Regions from separate parts of the Homo sapiens genome. Here region 1 is linked to region 2. Evidence: promoter capture Hi-C in 16 types of primary human blood cells and fetal thymus (Javierre and others, 2016). All regions are on one chromosome and are shown on one strand. The core of a region is centred on a gene start or on the middle of the fragment in contact, and the rest is flanking DNA. Distances in the headings are between cores, read along the strand shown.

What was found. Contacts are between HindIII fragments. The CHiCAGO score rates a contact against its expected background, and 5 or more counts as called.
Region 1: a contact is called between a fragment that was not itself captured here and the fragment with the promoter of UNC13A in region 2, in 10 of 17 cell types (naive CD8 T cells, activated CD4 T cells, M1 macrophages and 7 more). The highest score is 9.4, in naive CD8 T cells.

The regions. Positions count from the first base shown.
Region 1 is chr19:17,909,210-17,914,875 of GRCh38, reverse strand. No RefSeq gene overlaps it. Among named protein-coding and RNA genes, the nearest start is that of CCDC124, 21 kb to the left of the region's middle. The HindIII fragment of the contact is 4,460 bases long and covers 1-3,481 here.
Region 2 is chr19:17,685,097-17,691,315 of GRCh38, reverse strand. It overlaps UNC13A (unc-13 homolog A), which reads left to right and starts at 2,962. Exons shown (of 44, transcript NM_001080421.3): 1 at 2,962-3,138. The coding sequence starts at 3,117. RefSeq lists a silencer at 3,444-3,626 and enhancers at 2,860-3,820, 3,821-4,782. The HindIII fragment of the contact is 13,980 bases long and covers 1-6,219 here.

The DNA.
Region 1 (5,666 bases), core at 2-2,501, 230 kb before region 2:
TGGTCTTGAATTCCTGAGCTTGACTGATTCTCCCACCTTGGCCTCCCAAAGTGCTGGGATTACAGGTGTGAACCACTGCACCTGGCCACCCCCACTTCTTTAAAAAAATAGTACTTAAAAAAATGTTTTTGAGATGACATTTTCACTCTTGTTGCCCAGGCTGGAGTGCAATGGTGCAATCTCGGCTCACTGCAACCTCCGCCTCCTGGGTTCAAGTGATTCTTCTGTCTCAGCCTCCTGAGTAGCTGGGATTACAGGCACATGCCACCACACCCAGCTAATTTTTGTATTTTTAGTAGAGACGGGTCTTGAACTCCTGACCTCAGGTGATCTGCCCACCTTGGCCTCCCAAAGTGCTGGGATTACAACCATGAGCCACTGCGGCCAGCCACCATTTTTTTTTAAGATGGGGTCTTGCTCTGTTGCCCAGCCTGGAGTGCAATGATGCGATCTTGGCTCACGGCAACCTCCACCTCCTGGGCTCAAGCGATTCTCCCATTTCAGCCTCCTAAGTAACTGGGACCACAGGTGCACACCACTATGCCCAGCTAATTTTTTGTATTTTTTGTAAAGATGGGGTTTCACCATGTTGCCCAGGCTGGTCTCAAACTCCTGAGCTCAAGTGATCTTCCCACCTTGGCCTCCCAAAGTGCTGGGATTACAGGAGGGGACTCTGTGCCCAGCCTAAGGGAGTCTTGATTTACAGCCAGTGCATTAGAAGTACAGGTGAAAACCTACTGTTTGCAGATGGCATCTGCAGTAGGGACCATCTTGTGGGACTGAGCCCTTAACCTATGGGATCTGATACTATCTTCAGGTAGATAGCTTCTGAACTGAATTGAATTTAAAAACACCCACCTAAAAAAATAAAAAGACAAAAAAATCAAACAAAAAACCCCACCCAGCTGGTGTCTGCTGGAGAATTACTTGACGTTTGGAAAAGTTCCCATACATCTGGTGTCAGAAATGTTGTGTTAAGGCTGGGCACAGTGGCTCATGCCTGTAATCCCAGCACTTTGGGAGTCTGAGGCTGGCAGATCACCTGAGGTCAGGAGTTCGAGACCAGCCTGGGCAACATGGTGAAACTCCATCTCTACTAAAAATACAAAAGTTAGCTGGGCATGGTGGTGCATACCTGTAGTCCCAGCTACACGGGAGGCCGAGGTAGGCGAATCGTTTGAACCCGGGAGGCAGAAGGTTGCAGTGAGCAGAGATCACGCCATTGCACTACAGCCTGGGTGACAGAATGAGACTCCGTCTCAAAAAAGAAAAAAGAAAAGAAAGGAATGTTGTGTTGAGTGATGTGTGAGCAGAAAAAAAAATTAATTTATGTTTTCTTTTTACTTTTGGTGTCAGAAGTGGGATTTGGACTTGGTGCAGATCTTAAGTGTAATAATACACTATCTCAATGATATTATGATATTGTTGGAAACTGAAGATCAGGCTAGGACTGAGTTGAATGCAGTGGGGACCCACATGACCAACCAAAGCTGGCTAATAGCTGTCCAAATGGTGAAATTCTTAGAATAGGCCAGGCGCCGGTGGTTCAAGCATGTAATCCCAGCACTTTGGGAGGCCGAGGTGGGTGGATCACCTGAGATGAGCAGTTCAAGACCAGCCTGGCCACCATGGTGAAATGCCGTCCCTACTAAAAATACAAAACTTAGCTGGGTACGGTGGCAGGTGCCTGTAATCCCAGCTACTTGGGAGGCTGAGGCAGGAGAATTGCTTGAACTGGGGAGGTGGAGGTTGCAATGAGCCAAGATCACATCACTGCACTCCAGCCTGGGCGACAGAGTAAGACCTTGTCTTAAAATAAAAAAAAAAGAAAAAAGAAATTCTTAGAATAATCTAGGCAGGAGCCACCCAGGATAGTCCACAACTGACTAAAAATAAATTGCTGGCCAGGTGTGGTGGCTCACACCTGTAATCCCAGCACTTTGGGAGGCCGAGGTGGGTGGATCACCTGAGCTCAGGAGTTTGAGATTAACCTGACCAACATGGAGAAATCCCATCTCTACTAAAAATACAAAATTAGCTGGGGGTAGTGGTGCATGCCTGTAATCCCAGTTACTCGAGAGGCTGAGGCAGGAGAATCGCTTGAACCCAGGGGGTGGAGGTTGCAGTGAGCCAAGATCACACCACTGTATTCTAGCCCGTGTGACAGAGCAAGACTCCACCTCAAAAAAAAAAAAAAAAAAAAGAAAGAAAGAAAGAAAAAAAGAAACAGCCGTCGTTACCTAACCCCAGGACCAAACAAGAAACGTCAGTGTTTCTGGAGTCTCCAACAGGACTCAGTCCCAACACCTCTGCTCCCCATGAATTCAGAGAATAGCACTGGGGCTGGAAGGGCCTTCAGTAGGTCCAAGGCCAGCATGCACAAGACCCACTGCCCAGAGAAGAGGGAGATTTGGGTCCTCCAGTGGTCCCCAAGCCAGTTTCTTTGACAGATTGAGGAGGTCCAAGCAAGCTGGTAGCCTCTGTGTCCCCCAGCCTCAGGCCTCAGTGTCTGGCACTCCAGCTTCACAGGCGTTTGCAGTGGGGCATCCTCAGGGAATAAAAAGTTTTGTGAAGACCTGGAGATCTTTTTTCAAAAGCACAATTACAGGTTTTCACACAGACTAGTCTTCATTCATACCTAAAACTCTCATTTCTGGTAGAAAATATGCACCAGTGAAAAACAGGGCATGGGGCTGGGTGTGGTGGCTCATGCCTATAATCCCAGCACTTTGGGAGGCTGAAGCAGGAGGATTGCTTCAGCCCAGGAGTTCAAGACCAGCCTGGGCAACTTAGTGAGTTGCTGTCTCTACAAAAGATAAAAAATTAGCTGGGCATGGTGGTGTGTGCCTATAGTCCCAGCTACTCGGGAGGCTGAGGTGGGAGGATTGATTGAGCCTGAGAGTTTGAGGCTGCAGTGAATCAACATCTCCCCACTGCACTCCACCCTGGGCAACACAGCAAGATTCTTTTTCTAAAGAAAAGTTTAAAAATAAAAATAAATAGTCTGGGCAGGGTGGCTCATGCCTGTAATCCCAGCACTTTGGGAGGTGGAAGTGGGCAGATCACTTGAGGCCAGGAGTTTGAGACCAGGGTGGCCAACATAACAAAACCTCATCTCTACTAAAAATACAAACATTAGCCAGGCCTGTGGCGCACACCTGTAGTCCCAGCTACTCGGTAGGCTGAGGCAGGAGAATCGCTTGAACCCAGGAGGCGGAGGCTGCAGTGAGCTGAGATCGCACCACTGCGCTCCAGCCTGACAACAGAACGAGACTCCGTCTCAAAATAATAATAAATAAATAAATAAATAAATATTTGGTCTTTTGACCCCAGTTCCTGACAGAGTGATGGGAGTGTCTGACATAGAGCTCCTAAATCCCCTAGAGTTTCCTGGGTGATAGGAGCGTCTTTGGTTCTAAAAAGATGACTCTTGGTGGGTTCCTGGGTGGGGACCAACAAGACCAAGCCATCATTAGAAGCTTGGAGCTTTCAGCCCCACCCTCTTTCTCTGGAGACCGGAGAGGGGCTAGGGACTGAGTTAATAATCAATCATGCCTTCATAATGAAGCCCCCATAAAAATCCCCAAAAGATGGGGTTTGAAGAGCTTCCGAGTTGATGAACACATCTGCAGGTTGCAAGGGTGGGGTATCCCACTCTATAGAGACCATTGTGTCTCAAGGCGGGCTGTTTTGTGGGATTGAGCCCTTAACCTGCGGGATCTGATGCTGTGTCCGAGTAGATAGCATCGGAACCAAATTGCATCAGAGGAATCCCAGCTGGTGTCCACTGGAGAATTGCTTACTATGTGGAAAAAATAAAGACAACCCACACATCTGGTGTCAGAAGTGTGGTGTTGAGTGGGATGTGTGTTTTGTTTGTTCCTCTTACATTGTGTTTTGAAATAAAACCAATACTCAGCCGCAAAGCAACCGCATTGGTCACCCTTCTGCAACGATTGTGTTAATGTTTTTCTTGATTTCGTCAAACATGAGAGCCGCAGGGGTCTGCAGATTTTCATAACAAGGCCTCCAGGACAAATTGGCTCTTGAAATTATTTTGTGATTAAAAAGAAAAAAGAAAAGCCAAATTTAAAAAAATAAATTAAAAGAAGATTTAATAAGATTTATATGTATTCAAAAGAAGATTTAGTAAGATTTGTATGTATTCACCAGGAAACATGTTTTATGATTTGTTTTGGAAGGGCAAAAGCAATTTCCACAGTAATGTGAATTTTGTAATCTAATATTCTTTTTTTTTCTTTTTTTAGATTTTTGAGGCAGGGTCTCACTCCCATCACCCAGGCTGAAGTGCAGTAGCATGATCACAACTCACTGCAGCCTCAACTTCCCAGGCTCGGGCGATCCTCCCACCTCAGCCTCCTGTGTAGCTGGGACCACAGGCATGCATCACCATACCAGGCTAATATTTGTATTTTTTGTAGAGATGCAGTTTCACCATGTTGCCCAGGCTGGTCTCAAACTCCTGGGCTCAGATGATCGCCCCACCTCCCAAAGTGGTGGGATTACAGGCGTGAGGCACTGCACCTGGCTCATTTTTCTAAGAAAAAAAAAAATCTTTCTGTCTAGATTTTTTTTTTTCATGTTTGAGGGCTCTGCATTGCTGGGGCAACTGTGGATTTGACCAGCTCCTTGAACAATCCATTGCCAGGTCAGGACTTGGAGAAAGCAACGTGGATGACCCAGAGAGGGGCAGCGACTGGCTGCAGGCCACACAGCAATTTCATCAAGATTCCATCCTTAGGCCAGGAGTGGTGGCTCACGCCTATAATCCCAGCATTTTGGAAGGCCTAGGTGGGCAGATCACTTGAGGTCAGGAGTTCAAGACCAGACTGGCCAACATGGCGAAACCTTGTCTCTACTAAAAATATGAAAATTAGCTGGGTGTGGTGGCGGGTGCCTGTAATCCCAGCTACTCGGGAGGCTGAGGCAGGAGAATCGCTTGAACCCGGGAGACGGAGGTTGCAGTGAGCCAAGAATATGCTACTGCACTCCAGCCTGGGTGACAGAGCAAGAGTCTGTCTCAAAAAAAAAAAAAAAAAAAGATTCCATCTTGGTGGGGTAGGTGGCATGAGGTGAGCTACCTCCTGAGAGCCACCAGTTTTGGGATGATCCTCAATCCCAGCCCGTCTCAGACCTGGCTCTGGGGAGAATAGGATGTAGGGGAGACCTTCCATCCTTGCCGTGCTGTGCCCCAGGTGGGCCTGGAGCCAGCTGCACCTGAAGCTGACACAGCCCTGGGCCTCGGTAGGAGGCAAGTGGAGTCATTCCAGTGGAAACTTACCTGCTTCCTGCCTGGTCTTGTCTTCTGCTCCACCTGGCTTCTTGACAACTCTCCCGCTGTACCAGAAAGAATAGGAATTCAGGGCCTCAGTATTGGCTTAAGCTACAGATACCAAGATCAGCAGGGGAGACAGAGACAAGCCTGTGGACCTGAAGGGGAGGGGCCCCACCTCCCAGCCATTTAGGAGAACATTCAACAGGGCTGCAAGACAGGGCTCAGAGGACGAGGAGGAACAGGAGGCAAGGGCACTGCCTGGGGTGCTGGGGTAGGCAGCAGGGTTGCCCAGAGGAAGAGGAGATTCTGGGAGGAGGCCTCTGGAGCTGCTTGGTTGAAGTCACCCAGTTGACCTTATGCAGAAGTTCCA
Region 2 (6,219 bases), core at 1,713-4,212:
AAAAAAAAAAAAAAGCCAGGCAAGGTGATGGGCGCCTGTAATCCCAGCTACTCGGGAGGCTGAGGTAGGAGAATCGCTTGAACCTGGGAGGCAGAGATTGCAGTGAGCGGAGATTGTGCCACTGCACTCCAGCCTGGGTGACAGAGTGCAGCTCTGTTTCAAAAAACAAACAAACAAACAGATTAGTAAAGAATGTGAACAAAGTCAAATGAGGTGGCTCATGCCTGTAATTTCAGCACTTTGGGAGTCCAAGGCAGGCAGATTGTTTGAACCCCAGAGTTCAAGACAAGCCTGGGCAACATAGTGAGACCCTCATCTCTAATTAGCCAGGCATGGAGGTGCATGCCTGTTGTTCCAGGTACTTGGGAGGCTGAGACAGGAGGATTGTCTGAGCTCAGGAGCTCACACCACTGTACTACAGCCTGGGTGACACAATGAGACCTTGTCTCAAAAAAATAGAAACATGCAAGAGGTAACCATGTATTGTTTGCTAAGGAGCATGTGGTAAACTATAAGGAAAAGGAAGAAAATGAAAAACAAAATTTGTGATAGTTCTTCCATCTGCAGGGAAGGATTATGAGATTGGGGAGAGGCACATGGGGGTCTTTTATTGTGATGGTATTTTTTTTTTTTTTTGAGACGGAGTCTCTCTCTGTCACCCAGGCTGGAGTACAGTGGCCCGATCTCGGCTCACTGCAAGCTCCGCCTCCCGGATTCACGCCTTTCTCCTGCCTCAGCCTCCTGAGTAGCTGGGAATACAGGCGCCCGCCACCACGCCCGGCTAATTTTTTGTATTTTTAGTAGAGACGGGTTTTACCGTGTTAGCCAGGATGGTCTCGATCTCCTGACCTTGTGATCACCCCGCCTCAGCCTCCCAAAGTGCTGGTATTATAGGCGTGAGCCACCGAGCCCGGTCGATGGTAATTTTTTTTATCCAAGCCTGCTCCTCATAGTTTATCTACTCATTGATGTTTAATAAAACATCAATGTTTTATTGATTATCAATGTTTAATAAAACATCTACTCATTGATGTTTAATAAAAATTTAAGACCAGGCATGGTGGCTCATGAGCCTGTAATCCCAACATTTTGGGAGGCTGAGACGGGAGGATCACTTGAGCCCAGGAGTTTGAGACAGCCTGTGCGACATGGTGAAACTCTGTCTCTACAAAAAATACAAAAATTAGCTGTGCTGATTTTTTTAAAAATTTAAAGCAGTGACAGATACAAACATGGTTACTATTAGGCATTAAGATTACAACTGGGGCCAGGCGCGGTGGCTCATTCGTGTAATCCCAGCATTTTGGGAGGCCACGGTGGGTGGATCACTTGAGGTCAGGAGTTTGAGACCAGCCTGGCCAACATGGTGAAACCCCATCTCTACAAAAAATACAAAAAAATTAGCTGGATGTGGTGGCGAGCGCCTGTAATCCCAGCTACTCAGGAGGCTGAGGCAGGAAGATCACTTGGAGGTTGAGGTTGCAGTGAACTGAGATGGTGCCACTGCACTCCAGCCTGGGCCACAGATTGAGACTACACCTCCAAAAAAAAAAAAATTACAACTGGTTTCACATGTTAACTCATGTAATACCTCCAGCAACCTTGTGAGGCAGGACTTGTTATCATATTCATTCTACAGGTGCGGAAACTGAGGCACGAGGAGGTCACAAGACCTGCCCAAGGCCATGCTTGTGATGAGAGACAGAGTTTGGTTTTGAACAATGGCCTCACTCAACTCCATGCACATTCTGCATTTATGAAGCTCTTTCATGTGGGCTGGGGGCAGGAGACCCTGTGGGGCTCAGCCTTTCATGCTAGTTTAGGTGCCAGTGATACAGCGAGCAGGTTGCAGGGCAAGGGGCCCACATGGAGCTGCCCAGTTTGATATGTGGGGAGGGGGCCAGGCGCAGTGGCTCAGGTCTGAATCCCAGCACTTTGGGAGGCCGAGATGGGCGGATCCCCTGAGGTCAAGTGTTCAAGACCAGGCTGGCCAACATGGTGAAACCTCGTCTCTACTAAAAATAAAAAAAATAAAATAAAAAAAAAAAGCTGGGCATGGTGGCATGCGCCTGTAGTCCCAGCTACTCGGGGAGGCTGAGGCAGGAGAATCTCTTGATCCCAGGAGGCAGAGGTTGCAGTGAGCCAAGATTGCGTCACTGCATTCCAGCCTGGGCTGCAGAGGGAGACTCCATCTAAAAAAAAGAAAAGTGGGGAGGAGTGGCAGAGTTTCGTTCGGGTCAGGGCCCAATCAGAGGAAGGGATAGGGGCTGGGGGAGTCCAGAGAGGAGAAACAAAGGCTCAGCTTGGGGCAGTCAGGGAAGCCTTCCTGGAGGAGAGGATATTCAGACAAGACATTGATGGATGAAAAGGAGTTCAGAGTGTGGGCAAGGACCCATGGGCTGGATGGCTTAGAGACATAGAGAGAGACCTAGACAGGATGCAGTAGAGCTGCAAAAAGACTTTACAGAGAGAGGCTAAGAGACACATGACTGAGAGAGCAGTGGACAGAGTCAGAGGAACAGAGACCCAGGGAGAGAAAGAGACCAGGCAGTAGAGTTAGAGAGACAGAGACGTAGAGACAGAGGAAGAGAGATACTCAGAGAACAGGACCATCTGCCCGGTGCTGGTGCCGGGCGTACACACAAGAGCTTGCATTTGCCTGTACTTGCTTGAGTATTGCAGGGAGGCGTTTGCCCAGGTTACCAGGGCAGGAATGTCCATGCATGGGTGGCGGGGGCACGTGCACCATTTCAGTGCAGGTGAGGGTCTGCACAGGAGGAAACCTGCTTGGGGGCCGCCGTCGCCCCTTGTCCCCCTGCAACGAGGAGGTGTGGGGCGAGGCGCCCCTTCCCGGAGCCAGGCCCTTTAACGCCCCCCCAGCCCGCAGCGCCCCCGCCCCATCAGGCGTCCCTGGGCTCCGCCTGCCCGCCCCGCATCAGCGCCACGTCAGGCGCTGTCCGCGCCCCCGGTGCTGAACCAAGATGGCCGGTGGCGGCCGGGCCCCGGCGTGAGCCAAGCGCGGGCTGCAGCCGGGAGATGCCCCAGCCCAGCGGCCGCTGAGCCCGACCCGACAGAGCCGGCCCGGCCGCCTCCGGCCCACCTGCGAGCTCGGAGACATGTCTCTGCTTTGCGTTGGAGGTAGGAGGCGAGGCTGGGGGTCGGGGGACCCGTGTGGACGCGGGCTGGGGTCGGGGTCCGCGTGGATGCGGCTCCCAGGGGGTTCCTGGGGGGTGACCCGAGTCCAGGTGGCTGGACTTTTGAGAGGGGTAGCCCTTGTCGACGCAGCTGGGCCCCGGAGGGGGTGATCCGTGTAGACGCGGCAGGGCTCTCGGGGGTCCTGGTGGCCGCTGCTGGAGGGGTCGTGTGGACGCGGCTGAACGCGGAGGCCCGTGTGGACGTGGACGGGTATCCGGGGTTCTACCCGGAAACGATCTAGACTGGGGCGTCTGTGTAGACCAGGTTTTTAGAGGGTCAGTGAGGAAGAGTCTGGGCTCGGTAGTTTGATTGAAGCCTGCAGGGGTGCTTGGAAGGGGTCTGGTGTTGTGGGCTGGGTTACGGGTCCTCATGGACGCGGACCCGGCTGGAAATTCGAAGGAGAGTGCGGTGGGAGGGTTCTCCAAGCCGTGGGGATGTAAGATATAGGTAGAGGGGCTTGGCCATCAGGGCATCCACGAGTTCTAGGACTCTCCCAGCCCTAGGTGTAAAGAGGACTGGAGTGGGGGGAGTGTGGAGACAGGAGACCCCTCCCAGCGTCCAGAGAGGGCTGTGACTGGAGGTCTGGGGGCGCTTTTCCAGTTAACTCTTTGGCCTCCCGAGTGAGGGGGTTGGAGGAATGTCCAGAAGGTCTTCCCGCTCCCTGCCCCCTCCGGTTCTCCCAAACACGTTTCAGGGCCTTCTCGGCAGGGAGCCTACTTCTTGGAAGAGCAATGTCTCCTGGTCCCCCTCCTGGCCCATCCTCACCTCACCCACTTTGCACTGGAGAGAGGGAGGGAGGGAGACGTGAGGTGGGGGGGGAGCTATTTTGGGGCCAGAACGCCATCTGCACAGAGGCCCACGCCCAGGCCCACGCTCTGCGTTGGGGTTGGAGGAGGGAGGGAGACGTGGGAGGGGCATGACCCCCCACCCCACACCTTTATGGCTCTGGGGTCGTGGGGAAGCCAGCCCAACCGAACCCAGGCGTTCTGGGCACTCCCGTTTGAGAAATCAAACTCTGGGAGACCTTGGGCGGCAGGGGTGGATGTGGACCGCCGTTCCACGCCTACAGAGCTCTGAACCCCTGGTTCTTAAGGACTGGGGTCCCCCCGTCACTCCCACCCATTTCAAGAAGGCTGGGGTGGGGGAAGGGGTGTGTCTGCCAAGCCTGAGACTGCAGGCTTCGGGAGACCTCGGGCGACAGGAAGCGTGCGTGTGCTGAACTCCTGCTGCCTGGACACAGGGTGGGCAGGCCGGGGAGCCGGGAACCGCCCCCGCCGCCCCTCCTCCTCCCTCCCCTCCCCCTCGGCCGATTCATTCACAAACCCTGCCCCGCCCGCCCGCTCCCCGCCGCGGCAGCTTCCGAGTGCAAATCCGGCCGGGCTGGGCCGGCGTGGACGCGGGTGTTCTTAAAGGGACAGGGGCCTACTTTCTCTAAGCTCGTTTCTGCTGGACGGGGCTGGGGGTGGTGGAAGAAGGGTCCCTAGAGTCAAAGGTCAACTCCTCCATCCCCTAGCCTCCAGGCCTATGGAGTTAGGGGAGTAGGGAAGTGAAGGAGACCCCTAGGCGACCCCCACCGCCTAGGCCTGAGGACGGAATGGGAGGAGAACTTGAATGTCCAGACCCCCTACTGACCTCTCCCCCTGCTCTAAGTAGCCGGGCTCTTAAAGGTGGCACTGGAGGAGGTTCCGACGTGGGTGTTCTTGGCTGACTCCTCTATCCTCTCTCTTCTCCCCCCAGCATCCCGCCCCACCCCGCCTCACATCCTCCAAGTTGGGCTTCTCTGGAAGGTTTGCCTAGTGGAGTGGGGGGGGGGGGGGGGGGGCGGGGATCTCACCCTTAACTCTGACGCAAACAGGAGGCTCGGCTGCGGGGGTGGCATTAAGGGGGGGCAGCAGGAGGCAAGAGGGATGAGGCTTCCAGAAACAGAGACGTTGGGGGAGGACTGTGCTGGATTCTGTGGACTTTACAGGGAGGGGCCCGGCTGAGTGGAGAGGAATCGCTGGGAGGGGCAAGGCTGGGGAAGAGGTTGACAGGGGTGGGAGGTAAGGCCCTCAGGTGTAAAGGGAGGTGTGAGGTTGGAGTGAGGAGGAGTAGGAGGCAGGGAGGGGTGGGGAGAGGGAGAAGTGCTGGGTGAGGCCAGTCTCCCAGGGAGAGGTGGGATGGTGCCCAGAGAGGGGAGGGGCTGGGATGGCTGAGCACGAGAGATGTTGGGGTGGGCTTGGCAGGAGTGAAGCTAGGCTGAGATGGGTTGCCGTGTTGCCTGAGCTCAGCTGAGGAAATACCTGTCCCCCCTCCCCTCCACCGGGGACCCACAGGCGTTTGCCAATCCCTACACACATTCATACCCAGACTTGTTCCTGTGTGGACACAAATGCTTAGGATGTATGAAGGCTCTACGCAGACCATGTGCCTGGGAAGGCACATTCCGTAGGCACACGTGTGTACTCAAATGCCTGTGTGAACACAAGCATACACGTGTATATAGGACACAGTCTGCCGCTACAGATATAGTCCCAGCAACACACGTGTGAGTGTGTGTGTCTGCCAGCACGCATATAGATGTATCCACGTGTCTGATGAATGCTCACAATATACATGTCACATAAAGATCCACCCATGTCCAGCCGAGCGCGGTGGCTCAGGCCTGTAATCTCATCACTTTGACTTTGGGAGGCCAAGGTGGGCAGATCACTTGAGGTCAGGAGTTCAAGACCAGCCTGGCCAACATGGTGAAACTTTGTCACTGCTAAAAAATAAAAAAAATTAGCCAGGTGTGGTGGCGCGCACCTGTAGTCTCAGCTACTCGGGAGGCTGAGGAAGGAGAATCACTTGAATAGGGGAGGTGGAGGTTGCAGTGAGCTGAGATCCTGCCACTGTACTCCAGCCTGGGCAACACAGTGAGACTCTGTCTCAAAAAAAAAGATTCACTCATGTCCTAACACTCAGACATGTACCCATACATATCTGTTAAGGTCCCCAACCCCATGAAGCACATATATATTCATATAAGCACATGTCAAAGCC